2 separate regions of the Homo sapiens genome follow, and region 2 is linked to region 1. Evidence: promoter capture Hi-C in 16 types of primary human blood cells and fetal thymus (Javierre and others, 2016). All regions are on one chromosome and are shown on one strand. Each heading gives the region's core, a stretch centred on a gene start or on the middle of the fragment in contact. The rest is flanking DNA. Distances are from core to core; before and after follow the strand shown. Region 1 holds the start of ITFG2 (integrin alpha FG-GAP repeat containing 2). Region 2 overlaps CACNA1C (calcium voltage-gated channel subunit alpha1 C).

The links. Contacts are between HindIII fragments. The CHiCAGO score rates a contact against its expected background, and 5 or more counts as called.
Region 2: a contact is called between a fragment that was not itself captured here and the fragment with the promoter of ITFG2 in region 1, in 6 of 17 cell types (naive CD8 T cells, naive CD4 T cells, fetal thymus and 3 more). The highest score is 6.3, in naive CD8 T cells.

Annotation. Positions count from the first base shown.
Region 1 is chr12:2,811,218-2,813,917 of GRCh38, reverse strand. It overlaps ITFG2 (integrin alpha FG-GAP repeat containing 2), which reads right to left and starts at 1,250. Exons shown (of 12, transcript NM_018463.4): 1 at 1,062-1,250. The coding sequence starts at 1,157. It overlaps ITFG2-AS1 (ITFG2 antisense RNA 1), which reads left to right and starts at 994. Exons shown (of 4, transcript NR_146317.1): 1 at 994-1,356. RefSeq lists enhancers at 974-1,223, 954-1,703 and a silencer at 1,334-1,423. The HindIII fragment of the contact is 13,075 bases long and covers 1-2,700 here.
Region 2 is chr12:2,675,615-2,678,327 of GRCh38, reverse strand. CACNA1C (calcium voltage-gated channel subunit alpha1 C) reads right to left here. Exons shown (of 47, transcript NM_000719.7): 40 at 1,107-1,234; 41 at 461-595. CACNA1C-AS1 (CACNA1C antisense RNA 1) reads left to right here. Exons shown (of 4, transcript NR_045725.1): 4 at 431-2,327. Among named protein-coding and RNA genes, the nearest start is that of CACNA1C-AS2, 4.8 kb to the right of the region's middle. RefSeq lists an enhancer at 790-1,291. The HindIII fragment of the contact is 2,511 bases long and covers 49-2,559 here.

The DNA of each region.
Region 1 (2,700 bases), core at 1-2,500:
CATAAAATTGGACTGCTTGGCAGTTCATGAAGAAACACGAAAGCCCAGAAAACATAACACAAATTTATGAGAATAACTCTTTCCTCCCCAGAGAGGGTAGAGCCAAAAAAGGCCTCATAAGATACCTTCTGCATCACAGCACTAGGGGGCGGTGGGAAATAAGTACAGGACAGTTAAGGAACTGTGAAGCAGGGAGGCCGAGTAGGAAGATAGGGCAGAGGGTAGAAGGGGGCAATACAGTGCTTTGCATTAGAACTATGAAATAGATGATAAATGAAAAGATAAAGTCTGCAAAAAAAAGAGCATCAGACACTATTCCCTTTAATGCTCCACCGGAGAATCCTCTCCATACTTTAGTCAATGCATCTCATTACATTTTATTATCCGGTGACTATTACACAGCTTGATTATGAGCTATCTGAGGACTGGAACTCTCTCGTTCATTTTTGAATTCCTAGAATGTAGCAGAGTCCTTGGTGCATAATGAGCAGTTCAGTAAAGATTTGCAGAAAAACAGAATAAAATACTAACACCACCACCACCACCACTAACACTTAAGTGAGCACTAAACTGTGTGCCAGGCATTGTTTTACCTGCTTGACCTGTGGTAATTTATTTAAAAAACGAGAAGGGCTGGGCACGATGGCTCAGGCCTGTAGTCCCAGCACTTTGGGCCAACATGGTGAAACCCCACCTCTACTAAAAACACAAAAATTAGTCGGGCGTGGTGGCGGGCGCCTGTAATCCCAGCCCCTTGGGAGGCTGAGGTAGGAGAATCGCTCGAGCCCGGGAGGCAGAGGTTGCGGTGAGCCGAAATCAAGCCACTGCACTCCAGCCTGGGTGACAGACGGAGCCTGTCTCAAAAAACAAACAAAACCTCCCAAGGAACAAAACCAACCACGAACACTGAAGCTATCAATAAAGTTTTTCTCTCTAGCGCTCCAAACTAGCCACAGCGCGCATGCTCACGCTCACGTGGCACGCTCGGGCGGCCTCTTCCACTTCCCTTGCCCCGTCCCTGCACAGATCCAGGCTGTCTCTTGCGGTGCGCATGCACCTACCGTATCGTTATCAACGTCTCCGAGGCAGATTGCGTGCGGGAAGAGGCTCCCGCTGAACTCCAGCGCCACGCGCTGCACGTAGCTAACTGACCTCATGGCACCTCCAAGAGCAGAGGGAGCGGAGAGGCCCAGTAAATATTCCCTGAACCCCCGTCGCGACAGCCGCCAGAGCGGAAGGCCACCTAAGGCAGCAAGTTACGTCACTGCCTGAACCTCCAATCTCTGCCTCTTCCTCCTTTAACCTTACAGAGGAGGCGGGTCTTCCGGGCTTGGAGGCGGGCTTCCCAACTCTGATGTGAGTGACAGGCCCACGGGCCACTCCTTTTCTCCACAGGGCTGCAGACCGTGGGTAAACCAACCCTGACGGGGGTCGATCTGTTCCCTTGGCAACAGGGCTCCCAAGGGCTTGACCTAATAACCTTGACCTTTTTCCTTTGTTTCCCTGGCAATGAAGATTCCTAGCCATCAGACCATTCCTGAGAATCTTACTAATCTTCGTAATAACTGATAATTGCATGGTTTTGAAAAGTGTTTTTAAAAAACTACCCATTAGGAGTGAAAACAATGTAGTGAGTTGCAATCAGCATATAAAAAATTAAATACAATAGTAATATACCAAGTGACTCCCAGGTAGTAAGGTAAGTACAGTTTTTGTGAAACTCTTGTTTCAATTGTATATACTTATATGTGTATACTGGCTTATAATGTAAAAAAAATTTTTTTTTTCAGTGTATGTGTTTTCTGGTCAATAGTTTAAAAGCCACCTGCTGCAAAGCACATTTCACATATTTCACATAATTAGTTCAGCCACTATGCGAGCTTTTTTTTTTTTTGGCTGAGGAAAACAGGTTCAGCAAGATTAAGTAAAATGGCAGAAGGAAGGATTGTGGGGCGGGGTGCGTGCTCAAACCAGAATTGTTTGATCCCAAACCCTAGGGCCTCTCCATCATTTACTATCATAGTTCGTAGGAGAGTCTTCAGGCTGGAAGTGAAGGTTGCCTGGATTCCGGATCTGCTCTGTCTTGTGGCCCCCCAGCACAAAGCTCTTGCATCTCAACCTCAGTAGCCTTACTCTTGTAGCACAGATGGGACTGTCACTCTCATGGCTGGCTTCTTGGGATACTTTCTTTCCATGTTGAATCCAGTTCTGCCTTTCTTTGGGGTGCCTCGTCAATCAGGGCAATATTTATGAAATCATACAGGTGTTCAATACATTTTTAGATTTAGGTCTAAAAACCCAGGCTGACTCGCACTTGGTGTTTCAAAAAAAAAAAAAAAATGATTCTACCTTATCTGGGATTTTGGACCAGGGGCTGTTCCTTTTTATCTTTTTTTTTTTTATTTTTATTTTTATTTTTTTTTGAGACAGAGTCTCGCTCTGTTGCCCAGGCTGTAGTGCAGTGGCGCAATCTCGGCTCACTGCAACCTCTGCCTCCCAGGTTCAAGCAGTTCTCCTGCCTCAGCCTCCCGAGTAGCTGAGACTACAGGCGAGCGCCACCACGCCCAGCTAATTTTTAATTTAATTTAATTTAATTTTTTTTTTTTTTGAGACGGAGTCTCGCTCTGTCACCCAGGCTGGAGTGCAGTGGTGCGATCTCGGCTCGCTGCAAGCTCCGCCTCCCGGGCTCAAGCCATTCTC
Region 2 (2,713 bases), core at 55-2,554, 140 kb after region 1:
CACCGCCTCTAGGCTCCGGCCCTCTGCTGCCCTGTGGGAATGCAAGCTTAATATTACCAGGTCTCCTGACTTTTCCAAAGAATGCCAGAAGTCTTGATTTTCAAATATTAACAAACAAAACAAGCCTGCAGATTAGATGTGCCCCAGGGGTGACCACTCTGCAACTTCTAATGCAGAAGTTTCTCCTAGGAAACATTTCCCTTAGGAAGGCGGTTCCTTCCCGCTTCTCTGAGAGCCAGTGACACTGAGAGCTGCTGTTTCCAGGGAGCCCTGCCTTGGGATGGAGTCAGGCTTGGAAAAGGCAAAGGGGTGAGGAGACAGCTCATCAGGAAGAGCCTGGAAGTAGCCCTTTCCTCTGGTGCAGCTCCTTCCCCTGGACGTTCCCCGCAAAACCCCAGCCCAACCTCTTGCTCCAAACTGAACTTTATAGGGGTCGAGAGTGCGCCATGGCACCACCCACCCTGAAGATGTCATCTTCAGAAGCAGCGGACACAGCCTCCTTCATGGCCTTGTCCAGCTCCTCCTCAGCGGTGAGATCTCCAGAGATGGCCCGTCGGATCTCAGGCCCGATGTCATGCAGTGTGCGCAAGCCAGCCTGGAATCCAAGGGGAGGATGGTGAGGACCACGCTCCCTTTCCTCCAAGCTCCCCAGCCAGCCACAGCCTCGGGCCAAGACCTGTCCCTCCAGGGCCCTGGCATCCTCCACCCAGCCAGTCGACCCTCCGGAAGGTTTGTGTGTGTGTGAACTGGGGGCTGGGCTGCCCTCTGATGGAACAATCCACTCGCCCATCCAGGAGGGATGAAGGCTCATTAGGACGGGGCACCAGGGGTCAGGGGCTGTCACGGGAGCCTCAGTGAAGTATTTGAGAGATCTGGGGGCTATGACAGCAGGCAGAACCATGGAGGGCAGTCGGTGGGTGGCAGGTAGGGAAGGGCACATCACCCCCTTCTCACAGCCATCTTTGGAAAGGTCTGGAGCTCTCTGAAAGGTTCCCTCTGCAGGGACCTGGCCTCCAGCCTGCTGGGGAGGGACCGGGACCCTGACTGGAGGTCAGAGGCAATGACCAGGACCTTCCTGGAGTGTGGGCCCGCCCCCAGGCCCTCACCTGCAGAGACAGCGCGTTCCTCTGGGAGGGCTTGCCCACAAGGCCCTGCTCTTTGCGCTTCTTGAACTTCCGGAAGTACTCCTGGATCAGGAACGTGGCGTAGAACTTGCCAACGGTGACCTCATCATCTGAGACGTATGGAGAGGGGAGAGGGGGTAAGAGGGGAGCAGGGGAATTCAGTTGAACTTCATTCATTTTTTTTTTCAGCATCCAAAACTTTTTAAAACTTTAATATTTTTGGAGAGGTAATACATTCACATGGCTTAAAAAGAGAGAAAAAAAACCATAAAAAGGCTTATGGTCAAAAGTCTCTCCCACCACAGCCCTTATCTGCCTAGTCACCACCTCCTGTAGATCATCTAGTTTCTTGAGTATTTTCTCAGAGATTCTTAGTGCAAATTAGTTATGTAAATCATCAAACATATTATCTCCTGTTTTTTTTATGCAAAAGGTAGCCTACCATCAAAATTATTTCCCGCTTTTTTTTTTTTAACTGAACTGATACATTTGATTCCAGAGCTTCAAATGTCCCTCATCAACTGGCCACTCTTCCAAGTGCAAGTGCAAAACGGTTCAGCTTAGCTCGGAGGGAGGGGCTGGTGGAAGGAGGGCTTTCTTCCCATGGAAGTTTGGATTTTTCTTTCAAACCCGATTGAGTTTTTGTGCCAGGTGGCTTGGCTGCATCCCTGCTGGGCTGGATACCCAAGATTATATGTGACATCATCAGTCCCTTTCCTGGGAGTAAACCTGATGGTGGAGAAGCCATAAGTTCTTAGAGGAAACATTTCATGCCTGGGGAGGAGCCCCTTGGATCTACCTCCTGGTTCTTTGTGAAGAGATGCCACGGGCCCAAGAGACAGCTGGGGATTAAATCTAGGGGCTGGTGAGGGTTCTCCTCCTCCTACCTGTCCCTCCAAAATAGCCACATCCATAGCAGTGATGACCCCTCCCTTCTCTGGCAAGCACCCCCTTTCCACGTGGGAGGGAAAAACCCAGGGTCCCCTGTCCAGCATAGTCAGGAAGGAAGAACTGCATGGTGGGACAAGCCTGGAGTCCTACCTGGAGTCCTAGGTTCCCTGGGGCCTGGGTTTGAATCCTGAATCTGCTGTGGACTCTCCAGGTAACCTTGGGCCAGCAACTTAGCTTCTAAGAACTTTAGTTCCCTGAGCAAACTTCACAGAAATGTTGTCAGGATTCAATAAAACGATGTATGTAAACATCACATGGCACTGGCGAGATTTTCGCTTAGCCCAAATCCGGCTTTCCCTCTGGCAAATGGTTCTCAACACAAGTGGTGTCGCCTCTTAAGGAGGGCACAGTAAATGTGTGGGGTGGTTTTTAGTTGTCGGGGTACTGTGGGGGTGCCACTAGCATTAAGTAGCTCCAGACCTGTCCCTTAAAGTGCAGGCATGTTCTGCAATCACAGCTTTGCACTCTGCATGGCTCTCAAGCTTATGCCACACATCCATGATTCTGCTTAGGAGTCTCTGGGCTCGGAACATAATTTCATTTTGCAAATGAACACAGGACATTGTTTTGCATGGTTTTAACACACCTGACAATTTCCAGGAATACAACTGCTGTGTAAATTGAGGAAAACTATACTT